4 separate regions of the Homo sapiens genome follow, and regions 1, 3 and 4 are each linked to region 2. Evidence: promoter capture Hi-C in 16 types of primary human blood cells and fetal thymus (Javierre and others, 2016). All regions are on one chromosome and are shown on one strand. The core of a region is centred on a gene start or on the middle of the fragment in contact, and the rest is flanking DNA. Distances in the headings are between cores, read along the strand shown. Region 1 overlaps TIMMDC1 (translocase of inner mitochondrial membrane domain containing 1). Region 2 holds the start of ARHGAP31 (Rho GTPase activating protein 31). Region 3 overlaps TMEM39A (transmembrane protein 39A). Region 4 holds the start of TEX55 (testis expressed 55).

The links. Contacts are between HindIII fragments. The CHiCAGO score rates a contact against its expected background, and 5 or more counts as called.
Region 1: a contact is called between a fragment that was not itself captured here and the fragment with the promoter of ARHGAP31 in region 2, in 3 of 17 cell types (naive CD8 T cells, activated CD4 T cells and fetal thymus). The highest score is 5.8, in naive CD8 T cells.
Region 3: a fragment that was not itself captured here is called in contact with the fragment with the promoter of ARHGAP31 in region 2 in 1 of 17 cell types (naive CD8 T cells); the score reaches 5.3 in naive CD8 T cells.
Region 4: the fragment with the promoter of TEX55 here is called in contact with the fragment with the promoter of ARHGAP31 in region 2 in 6 of 17 cell types (activated CD4 T cells, total CD4 T cells, non-activated CD4 T cells and 3 more); the score reaches 9.8 in activated CD4 T cells.

Annotation. Positions count from the first base shown.
Region 1 is chr3:119,501,196-119,504,050 of GRCh38, forward strand. It overlaps TIMMDC1 (translocase of inner mitochondrial membrane domain containing 1), which reads left to right. Exons shown (of 7, transcript NM_016589.4): 3 at 2,337-2,425; 4 at 2,759-2,826. Among named protein-coding and RNA genes, the nearest start is that of TIMMDC1, 4.1 kb to the left of the region's middle. The HindIII fragment of the contact is 5,898 bases long and covers 1-2,855 here.
Region 2 is chr3:119,293,026-119,295,819 of GRCh38, forward strand. It overlaps ARHGAP31 (Rho GTPase activating protein 31), which reads left to right and starts at 1,358. Exons shown (of 12, transcript NM_020754.4): 1 at 1,358-1,979. The coding sequence starts at 1,880. RefSeq lists an enhancer at 781-830 and a silencer at 1,671-1,790. The HindIII fragment of the contact is 3,332 bases long and covers 1-2,794 here.
Region 3 is chr3:119,443,925-119,446,624 of GRCh38, forward strand. The region is part of intron 5 of TMEM39A (transmembrane protein 39A); the gene reads right to left. Among named protein-coding and RNA genes, the nearest start is that of TMEM39A, 18 kb to the right of the region's middle. The HindIII fragment of the contact is 6,903 bases long and covers 1-2,700 here.
Region 4 is chr3:119,144,903-119,147,743 of GRCh38, forward strand. It overlaps TEX55 (testis expressed 55), which reads left to right and starts at 1,263. Exons shown (of 3, transcript NM_152539.3): 1 at 1,263-2,685. The coding sequence starts at 1,288. It also overlaps a transcript of IGSF11 not described here. RefSeq lists a silencer at 520-814. The HindIII fragment of the contact is 11,642 bases long and covers 1-2,841 here.

The DNA.
Region 1 (2,855 bases), core at 309-2,808, 210 kb after region 2:
CACTAAAGCAATAGTTAACATTTATAACTTTATAGAGTGCTAACTCGTTTGTTACATCATTAGATCTGTACATCAGTTCTTTTGTGAGAATATTAAAGCTCAGAGAATTTTTAACTTTTTATTTTGAAATTATAGCAGGCTTGAAAGTTGCAAAACTAGTACAAAGATTTCCTATATACCTTTCATCCGGATTCTCCATTGTTAACATTTTACCATGTTTGTTTTATCATTCTCCCTCTGTATAATATGTACTAATTTGTTCTGAGCTACTTGACAGTAGGTTATAGACATGATGAATACTTCAGTGTGTTATTTCCTAAAAACAAGGAAATTCTCTTATACAACCACAATTATAATATCAAGATCAGGAAATTAACACAGATATAGTACTATTATCTTATTTAAAGACCTGTAAATTTTGCTAGTTATCCCACAGTATCATTTATTTTAAAAATAAATAAAAAAATGTATTTTTCAGAAGTTAGGCTTGAGTTCTTATTAAAAAATTAATTAATTAAATTTTTTTTTGTCTGGTCCAGAATCTGACCCTGGATCACATGTTGAATTTGCCTGTTATGCTGCTTTGGTCTCATTTAGTCTGGAAGAGTTTCTCTGTTTTTGTCTTTCATGGCCTTGACTATGGGTGATTTATTTTGTAGAATGTCCCTCAATTTGGGTTTGTTTGATGGTTTCTCATGACTGCATTCAGACTATGTTTTTTGACAGGAATACCCTAGAACTGAAATTAAATTAGAAACCCATGATATCTCTGTCCCTTTACTGGTGATGTTTACTTCAGTGACTTGCTTAAGATGGCCTCTGCCAACTATACACTGTAAAATTACTATGTTTTTCCTTGGTAATTTATAAGTATTTTGAGTACTTGTTAGTTCCTTTGAGACTATGTAAATATCCTGCTTTTCATCAAATTTCTACTACTTAAATGCTATTATAAACTATAATATTTCTACTATCTAAAAACTATTCTAAATTCTTAGCATTTATAATTTTTTTATTTTTTTAAAAATTATTTATTCCTTTATTTATTTTTTGAGACAGGGTCTCACTCTGTTGCCCAGGCTGGAGTACAGTGGCACAATCTTGGCTTGCTGCAACCTCCATTTCCCAGGCTCACTCGATTCTCCTGTCTCAGCCTCCCAAGTAGCTGGGACTATAGGCATGTGCCACCATTCCCAGCTAATTTTTGTATTTTTTGTAGAGACAGGGTTTTGCCATGTTGCCCAGGCTGGTCTCAGAGTCCTCAGCTCAAGCAGTTCACCCCCTCCTTGGCCTCCCAAAGGGTTGGGATTATAGGTGTGAGCCACTGTGCCCAGCCTATTTTTATTTTTTAATTAATTAATTTTTTTTTTGAAATTTTTTGAGGCAGGGTCTTCCTGCCTCAGTGCAGGCTGGAGTGCAGCGGCGCGATCATAGCTCACCACAACCTCAAACTTCTGGACTCAAGGTTTCCTCCCGCCTCAGCCTTCCGAGTAGCTAGGACTGCAAACACACACCACCATGCCTAGCTAATTCTTAAATTTTTTTTGTAAAGGCAGGATCTCGCTATGTTGCCCAGGCTGGTCTTAAACTTGTCGGCTCAAGTGATCCTCCCTAGTTGCCTCCCAAAGTGCTGAGATTACAGGTGTGAGCCACCATACCCAGGCAGTTTTAGCATTTAATGATGATTCTTCCTGTAACAATTATGACTGTGGTGGCCAAATGGGCATTTTCTAAAGTCTATCATTCTTTCTACATTTATTGGTTAGTATTATGCTCTAAGGAAGTGTTTTCCCTTCCCCCCTCTATTTACATATTTATTTATCTATTTATAATTTATTTCTATCAGTAGGGACTCATGGATTCTTATTTTATTCTGTAGATTTATAATTCATTACAGGTTGAGCAGCACAAATCTGAAATCCTGAATGCTCAGATTCAAAACTTTTTGAGCATTGACACGTCATTCAAAGGAATTGCTCATTGGAGCATTTCAGATTTCGGTTTTTTGGATTTGGGATGCTCAACCAGTAAGTGTTAAAAGCGCATATTCCCAAATCTGAAAAAATCCTAAATCCAAGTATCAGATAAGGGATCTGGTCTCAAGTATCAGATAAGGGATACTCAACCATTTTTTCATCTCCTGATAGGATAGGCTACACATGGAACTTTTACGTAAGCCTCAATACTTAAAGAATAGTATTTCTAGAGATTTTCTAGTATTTCTATCTGTTTGGGTGTACCTGACTAATCCATAGCTAAAATTCCTCTACCGCAGTTCTAGAATAAGGAAAATATGATGGTGTCTTAGAACCTCACAGTTTTTTAATTAACTTTAGCAATCTGCACATCGTGCTGCCACACGAGGCTTCATTCGTTATGGCTGGCGCTGGGGTTGGAGAACTGCAGTGTTTGTGACTATATTCAAGTAAGTTCACTCTGAATTGTGAGATAGTGAATTTTCTTGATATTGTTTTAGGAGTGTGTCTTTTGAGCAGGTGGGGTTATGAAAACTGAATACCCACATGAAAGTGATTAATAATGCCTTTTTTTTTTTTTCAAGAACTTTTCTCTGTGTAAAAGACTGGTGTAGTTATGGTTTTACAACCATGTCTGGAACACATTGAAGGGGCCTAGGCTAGGAACAGGGATTGATATAGTAGGCTTTTCTAAATCTATTAAGTCAGTGAAAATAACACTCAAGAAGGTAAATGGGATATGCTTTAAATCTTATATTTTCCTTCTCCTCCCTTTTTACCAGCACAGTGAACACTAGTCTGAATGTATACCGAAATAAAGATGCCTTAAGCCATTTTGTAATTGCAGGAGGTAAGACATTTTTGTTTATATTTTTCAGT
Region 2 (2,794 bases), core at 108-2,607:
CGTCTCTCTAAAGAGGGTGCCTCCAAGGGGCCTGCCACAACTCAGCATCAGCCGTCCTTGCCATATGGGAATGCACTTGTGGTGTAACTAGATCTTCCATTTTTTCAAGAGAAGCCAGAAATTCAGATTTTATGTGAAATCTCTTAACTTTTTAATGCTAGCTACTAATTTTAAAACGTGTTAAAGCATGGTGTCTGCCAGCCAAGTACATCTATGGGCCAGATCTGGCAGGGTGGCTATCAAGTTGTGACCTCTGACATAGAGAAAATGTCAAGGGTCAAAGTTCATAGACTGTTAAGGTTACATAGAGAGACAGTGACTGTAAAGGGATTCAGTACCTAAAATGCTACGGATGCAGCTTTGCCAGCAATCTGAGCTGTATGACATATGCCCCTATCCTTCAAGCCTGTATATGGATTTGAATTTATACAGGAAGTTTCATCTAATCCTCAAATGGTTAAATCACAAGAATTTGAGTGCTTTCTGTGTGCTGAGTACACAGAAGTTAAAGAATTTAAAATCTAACTGGAGAAGAAAAAAACATGCCCTCTTGAAACAACTTGAAACAAATTATGAAAGAACCTGGGAGACTGCTTTCTTCACATTTCATGTGTCAGAGGCATCTTAAATCCTGGTTTGTCCCCCCCAAATCACTTCCATTTAGAAAACTTTGCAGTAGTGTGTGTGTGTGTCTTGAATATGTAACCAGAAATCTGATTTCCTGGGCAGTGGTTACAAAGCTGCAGCCTCTCTTTGCCCAGGGGTATCTTTACCCCAGAGTGGGAGGGGAGTGAGCTGAGGTGGGGGTGCACGAACGCTGCAGAGGAGGTTGGGATGGGAGTGGCCGGCGTGAAGCCACTGCCTGTCAGGTTTCTCCGCTGGAGTCCCCTGTTTGTCTCTGTCATTACTCTTTAAGTATTTGCGTAGCAGACAGGCGGGCACCGAAATAGAAAGTGTCAAAGATACGATGACAATGAGGATAAAACCAGGGCAGAGGGTTCTGAAAGTCCCAACCAGCACGGTCCCCGCAGAATGCCAGCGCACCTCCTCCCGCCACTTCAAAGAGCCGGCTCGGCGGGGCAGGAAGCGGCGGCTGCGGCTGCGGGTCCTGCGAGAAGAGCGCGATTTCCTCCGGGGCTGCCCAGTTATCTCTGGAGTCGCAGAACTGCTCTCGGGAGAACGCGTTCTCTACCCCAACCCCGTGCTCCTCAACCCACCCACCTACTTCCTCTAGCTCCACACACTCACAAGCACCGAGCTGCCAAAAATTTCCACCCACCGCCCCCCTCCCTAGCTAACTTCCTTCCAGCATTTCCTGAGCTGGATGATCCTAGGATTTGTAAGACAGGAAAAAAAGGAAGGCGTGAGGGCGGGCAGCAGCGACAGGATGCTTGTTTTTCGCTCTACCAAAGTCGTCTGAAGGCGAGACAGCGGGCCCAGGGCGCAGGACCCACCGCAGCCCCCTGGGCAGTCTCCTCGCCCCGCGTCCGCGTCGTCTCCGGGGCACTTAGTAAGGGGTGGGGAGAGCTTGCCCTCCCTCTTAAGCTGAGGAGAAACACCCGAAGACACCGCAGGAGCCTGTGAAAGTCCCTAGGACTCCAAGTGAGGAAGTGACACTCCCAGGCGAGCCGGCCCGCGGCTGCCAGTCTGCACGGCCTCGGCACGGCGGCCCCGGAGCGGCGCGGGGTGGATCTCAGGCTCTGCCGGCCCGCGGCCCGCGGGGTCCATGCGCAGGGCCCCCAGCCCAAGTTCTTCCATCTTCCGATGCGGCCCCCCAGAGCCGCGGGGCAGCCGGTGATCTAGCCCGGGAGCCCATCTTACAGCGGTGCCAAGCAGAGGGGCGGCAGAGACGGAGGGGCAGCCTCTTTGGGACTAACTCATGAAGAACAAGGGTGCTAAGCAGAAGCTGAAACGAAAGGGAGCCGCCAGCGCGTTTGGCTGTGACCTGACGGAGTATCTGGAAAGCTCGGGACAGGATGGTAATGTGCCTTGGCCTTTCTCCCCCGCCCCCACCTTCTTTTTGTTTGAGGGAGAGACGGACTCTCTCGAGTTGTGATAGAGTCGGTTCACAAGTTAATGTATTCCAGGCCTGTGCGCTCATTGCACTTTTTTTTCTTTTTTTTTTTTAAAGAACATAAACGATTCTTAAGGTGCACAGCGCTGCTGTCCCGACGCGCAGAGGCTGCTGTGTCAGTCCTTCCGTTTGCCTCACACAAGCTGTTAATGGGTGGTACTGCCGCAAGTTTACCGGGCCACCTCAGGGGATGGGGGTGGAAGCTGCAGAGGTCCCAATCCTAAACTTGGCACGTTGGAAGGGAGGGAGGAGGGGTGGACATGTGGGATGGTGATCAGTGGTCTTGCCTGGGTACAAAATCATGACCGCCTTAGCTGTCCCTCCTGGGCTCTCCAATTTCGTCTGCTCACATCTTTTTTTATTAATGTGTTAGAAGGCAGTTGCGGGTGGGGGGTGGGGGAGGATCCTGGCTGGGGGAGTGGTTGCACAAACATTTCTGAATTTCTGAGCTGATGCCAAATATATAGTACCTCCACCCCCTTTCCACAACCCCCTCCCCGCCCTGCAAGACCTTTTCCCTCCTCTTGGCTTTCAGATTAACATTTGGTGTGTCAGACAAGAAGAGTGTTGTAAAAAGGTCAGAGGGCCTCCATTTTTAAATAGTTTAGGGTAAGTAGAGAAAAGGAAAACTTCTCTGTTTTCAAGGTCAGATGGGGGTAGGGGGGAGTTGGGGATGGGGGAATCCAGCGGAGACAATTTAAACATTTGTTGGGGAAGGGG
Region 3 (2,700 bases), core at 83-2,582, 150 kb after region 2:
ATAAAATAAAATAGACTACAGTATAGTGTACACATAACTTTCATATGCACTAGGAAATCAAAAAATTGACATGACTCGTTTATTGTGATATTCGCTTTATTGCAGCAGTCTGGAACAGAACTTACAACATCTCTGAGGTATGCCTGTATGTTTAAAACTAAAATGTATTTAAATTACATAATTATTTCATTGTTTTAAGGGGTGTGGAGAGCCTCTAAGAGTAAGTTTCTTTATATACTTAAATTGAAACAGAAAAGTTTGCTAGCCATCCTGATAATAGTAATCCTCTTAAACTTGGCCAAAATATTCTTCAATATACCCATAATTAGCCGTTCAAATCAGACACGGTTAATCTTCTGATTCAACCAGTAAGGAGAATGACTAAAAATTTATTTTCAACTCAAATGGCTGAAATATTAATCTATAAATATAGAAACAATTCATGTAAAATATATTCCTCATATGAAATCAGAGTCATGAAAAATGTTCGTAACAGATAATTCATTTTGTAGAAAACAAGGGTAATATTAATGAATTCAGTTGATGAGTGACTTAAATAACTGTTTAAACAATGTAATCAGACCTACTATAGTATAACCAATAGAAAGACTGTTCCTGTCATCCTTATTAGCACAATCTCTAATTATGACTTGATTTTATACTTTGTAATTACCCACATAAATTCACGCTAACACTTCAGCACCATAAATAATATAAAGCAGTAATTCTCAAACTTGAGCATGCATCAGAATCACCTTGAGGGCTTGTTAAAACACAACTTGCTAGGTCCTACTTTCCAGTTTCTATTTCAGTAGGTTTGGGGTAGATTCTGAGAATTTCCAACAAATTTATAGGTGATGCTGATGCTGCTGTTCTAGAAACTACATTTTGAGAACTACTGATACAGTAATGATTAAGACAAAGACTCTGGAATCAAAAAAACCTTACTCCTCAGCCTGGGCAACATGGTAAAATCCTGTCTCTACAAAACAAAACAAAACAAAAATTAGCGGGGCATGGTGGTGTGCACATGTAGTCCCAACTACTTGGGAGGCTGAGGTGGGAGAATTGCTTGAGCCTGAGAGGTCAAGGCTGCAGTGAGCTGAGATCGCTCTACTGCACTCCCGCCTGGATGACAGAGCAAAACCCTGTCTCAAAAAAAAAAAGCAACCGTCTCTGGACAGTGGTGGGGTTTGATGGGAAAGTGGCATGACAGAATCTTGTGGAGTATGTGTAACGCTCTGAAGTCTTGACAGGGGATTAAGTCACACAGGTATGTCCACATTTAACAAAACTCCATATACACAAGATTTGGGAATTTTATTTTATTTTATTTTATTTATTTATTTATTTGAGACAGAGTCTTGCTCGTCGCCCAGTCTGGAGTGCCATGGCGCGATCCTGGCTCTGGCTCATTGCAACCTCCATCTCCTGGGTTCGAGTGATTCTTCTGCCTCAGCCTCCCGAGTAACTGGGATTACAGACACGTGCCACCACGCCCTGCTAATTTTTTTATTTTTAGTAGAGACGGGGTTTCGCCATGTTGGCGAGGCTGGTCTCGAACTACTAACCTCAGGTGATCTGCCCACCTCGGCCTCCCAAAGTGCTAGGATTACAGGCTTGAGCCACCGCGCCCGGCGGGAATTTTATTTATATGAATTTAACCTCAAAAGAAAAAAAAGCTGTCAACAAATATCGAGCTCTAGTTAATGATACACACATGCTGAAGTATTGAGGAGGAAGCAAACTGAGGTCTGAAATTTAACTTTGAAATGCATCAAAAGTAAGATGGACTAATGGATAGAGGGATGGAGAGATGGACAGATAAGTATTACACAGTTATAGTAAAACATTAATAGGCAGAATCATCTGGGTAAGGATTACACTGGTGATAGCTGTAAAATTCTTTCAACCTTGTTGAATGTTTAAAAGGTTTTGTAATAAAATGTTAGTTACAATCATAATAATATATATACATGTCTACAGCACTTGAATATGGCATAGAGTAGACCCTCTTACCTGCAGGAAGACATTCCAACACCCCAGTGGATGCCTAAAACCATGGATAGTACCAAACCCTACATACACTATGTTTTTTCCTATACTATATACACATACATACAATAAAGTTTTAACTTATAAATTAGGTACATTAAGAGATTAATAATAAAATAGAACAATTATAACAATATACTGTTTACAATTTCATGGATAGAAGATTCATTCTTACAGTAAATCTTAGCAACCTCAGCATGATTTTTCGTCTTTCCTTACTAAGTCAAGAACTTTCCCTTTTCACTTAAAGGAAGCACTTTACAGCTTTCCTTTGGCATACCTGAATTGTGAGCATAACTACACTTTGGAGCCATATTAAGTAAAATAAAGGTCACGTGAACACAAGCCCTGTGACACCATGCCAGTCCATCTAATAACCAAGTCCGCTACTAAGCAACTAATTGACAGGTAGCATGCACGGCACAGACATGGTGGACAAAGAGATGATTCACATCCTGGTGGGACAAAATGGGATGGCGAGAAATTTCACCATACTACTCAGAACAGCACACAATTTAAAACATAATTTGTCACATATTTCTGGAATTTTCTATTTAATGTTTCTGGACCTTGGTTGATCGCAGGTAACCGAAACTTCAGAAATCAAAACCATGGATAAGGGAGGACTACTTATTGTACTTCTGT
Region 4 (2,841 bases), core at 13-2,512, 150 kb before region 2:
AATCTCCAAAACCAATAGCACTTTGAAGCTACAAGCCATAGCCCAAGACCTATTTTACTCTAAACACAGTATCCAATGGTGTCATGCATTTTTAAATAAATAAGGTAGATAATTCATAAAGTGACATTCAACAAGCACTTCTTGAGCACCTATTATGTTCTAGGCACTGTTACATAAATGACTTTACTTCAGTGTGCTTAGATTCCCCTTTCCATTCCTAAGTATGGTGTCAAGTGTATCCACTCTCCTTTGTCACAAGTATTTGAATTTGGATTTTAAGTCTCATTTCTAATTGTTTAATGCAGTTAAATCCCTACTAAAGGAATATCTGGCATCACACTACCAACCCTTGGCCTGCCTCAGTGATTTCAGGCTTTGCAAGGTCAAAGTAATTTGTCTCATCAATCACCACCTCTGTACTGGCCTACTCCTGAAAGTAGACAGCCTACTGACTCTGAGGTGCATTCTTAAGGTTGATTGCAAAGTGGGAGGACCAAATCTCAAAAACTGGGCCCCACTGGCCAACACTATCAAATACAAATTCTCCACTTGCTAAATATTCCTTCTGGTATCTTTCTCCCACTTTCCTTACTCCCTTCCTTTCTGGAACTCTGATTTGGCCTCCTTCTAACTCGCCTCTCTGCTGTAAGACCACTAGATGGTGCAGTTTTAGAACCCATTCTCACTGGATCTTCTCTCCTCTCTCTGGCTCTCCCGCCACAGATCACATGTCTAATCCAGCAAGAAAACACCTTGGGGCAGGAGTTTCCACTGCCAAGACAGCTATACCCAAAGGGGATGGCAATAGCAACAACCTCTGTTCAGTTTTGTGGTCCTCGTGCAGCTGGTTGTGTGTTCATCTGTTGACATTTGGAGGTGCGGTGGGGGATGTTAATCAGAGGAGCAGTACCTGAGAGAGGGCCTCTTTCTCACACACTGCGGAGAACCTCTGTGAACAAGGAAGAGGGTAACACTCTAGGTGGCGATGCACGGAGCCCCGTGGCCTGGTTGCTCGGCAGGGTGAGGAGAAGCTGTAACTGCCAGAGCCTGAGAATCGCCCCTTCTCAGGACATGGCGTACTCCCTGCGCTCGCCTGCACACTGCAGGGTCAGCTGACTGCCGTCCCTCCACTTACAACAGCGGGACGGCCACTCTCCCTGACGCACGCAGTGACCCGAACAAAGCCCGTGGGAATCATGGGGCGTTCCTGGAGGGTCGCCTAGACGACCCAGCCCAACCCCACCCACAGTGCCTGGCAACCTAGACCAGTCAGGGACGCGGCAGGAAATGGAAGAGCCTCCGCAAGAGGCTCTGGCTGAACCCTTGAAACATGAAAGCCCAGCCGCTCCCTCAAGTGCTGGCCACACTAAGGGCCAGGAAGAAGACGACCAGAAGAACCAGGCCGAAAGGAAGGCAGATAACCACACTGCTCACAGAATAGCTGACCAGACTGCCCTAAGAGTGCCTAGCCAGGCTGAATCCAGCATATTTAGCCAAGCTACCAACGGAGTAGCTGAACAAAATGGGCATAGTACACCTGGTCAGGCTGGCCGCAGAGCATCCAACCCTGCTGATGTTTCTGACCTTAGAGCAGATGATCAGGTTAATCAAACACCGTCTGAACAGACTAAAGGCAAGGCATCTAGCCAAGCTAATAATGTACAGCATGAACAGAGTGATGGTCAGGTGTCTGGCCTGACGGAGGAAAGAACTGCTGAACAGACTGAACGAAGATTACCTACCCAGGCTGAGAGAAGAACTTCTGGGCAGATTGATGGTAGACTGGCTATGCCATCTGACCAGAGAGGTTCCAGACAGACCGACCACAGAATGGCAGGCCAGTCTGAGAGAAGAGCTTCCGAGCAGATGGACCGCAGAATGTCTGGCGAGGCTGAGCGAAGAACTTCTGAGCAGATTACACACAGATTATCCAAACTATCTGAGAGAAGACCTTCTGTGCAGATTGACAGTGGGTCATCCGTCCCATCTGACCAAAGTCCTTCTGTACAGATTGACAGTGGATCGTCCGTACCATCTGACCAAAGACCTTCCGTACAGATTGACCGCAGAATGTCAGGGAAAGTTAGGAGAAGAAGTTCTGAGAAGACTGACTACAGATTGGCTGGCCTGGCTGACCCAGGAACTTCTGAGCAGACTGACCTCAGATTGTATGGCCTCGTTGACCACAAAACATCTGTAAAGACTCACCACCAAGTGTACGGCCAAGCCACTGAACTAGCTGAACACCAGGCTATTGACCAAGCTCATAGTAATGCTGATCAACCTCCAGTTGACAATGCTCACTACACTGAATCTGACCAGACTGACCACTTAGCAGACAGACAAGCTAATCATAAAGACCAGCTGTCTTACTATGAAACACGTGGCCAGTCTGAAGACAGAATATTTCCCCAGTTAGGCAACAGCAAAGAGGACAAAGAGGCTGACTACAGAGTACAACCCTGCAAATTTGAGGATAGCCAAGTAGACCTCAATTCCAAGCCTTCAGTTGAAATGGAAACTCAGAATGCAACCACTATCCCACCCTACAACCCAGTTGATGCCAGATTCACCAGTAACTTCCAAGCAAAAGACCAAGCTCTTTTCCCAAGACTCCCCTCCATCTCATCCAAATTGAACTATACCAGCAGTCAAGAAAAAACTCAAGCCATAGTAACCAAATCTGTAAGTTAAATGGGCATTTGATACCTACCTGGGAGATCAGAGATCTAGACGGGGCCTGGAGAGTAAAAATAGGGGTACAACGGAAGGGCACATGTTGCATCAAGGATAAAGAATAAACCCACATGTTGTGGTATGTGTGACCCATAATTTCAGGAA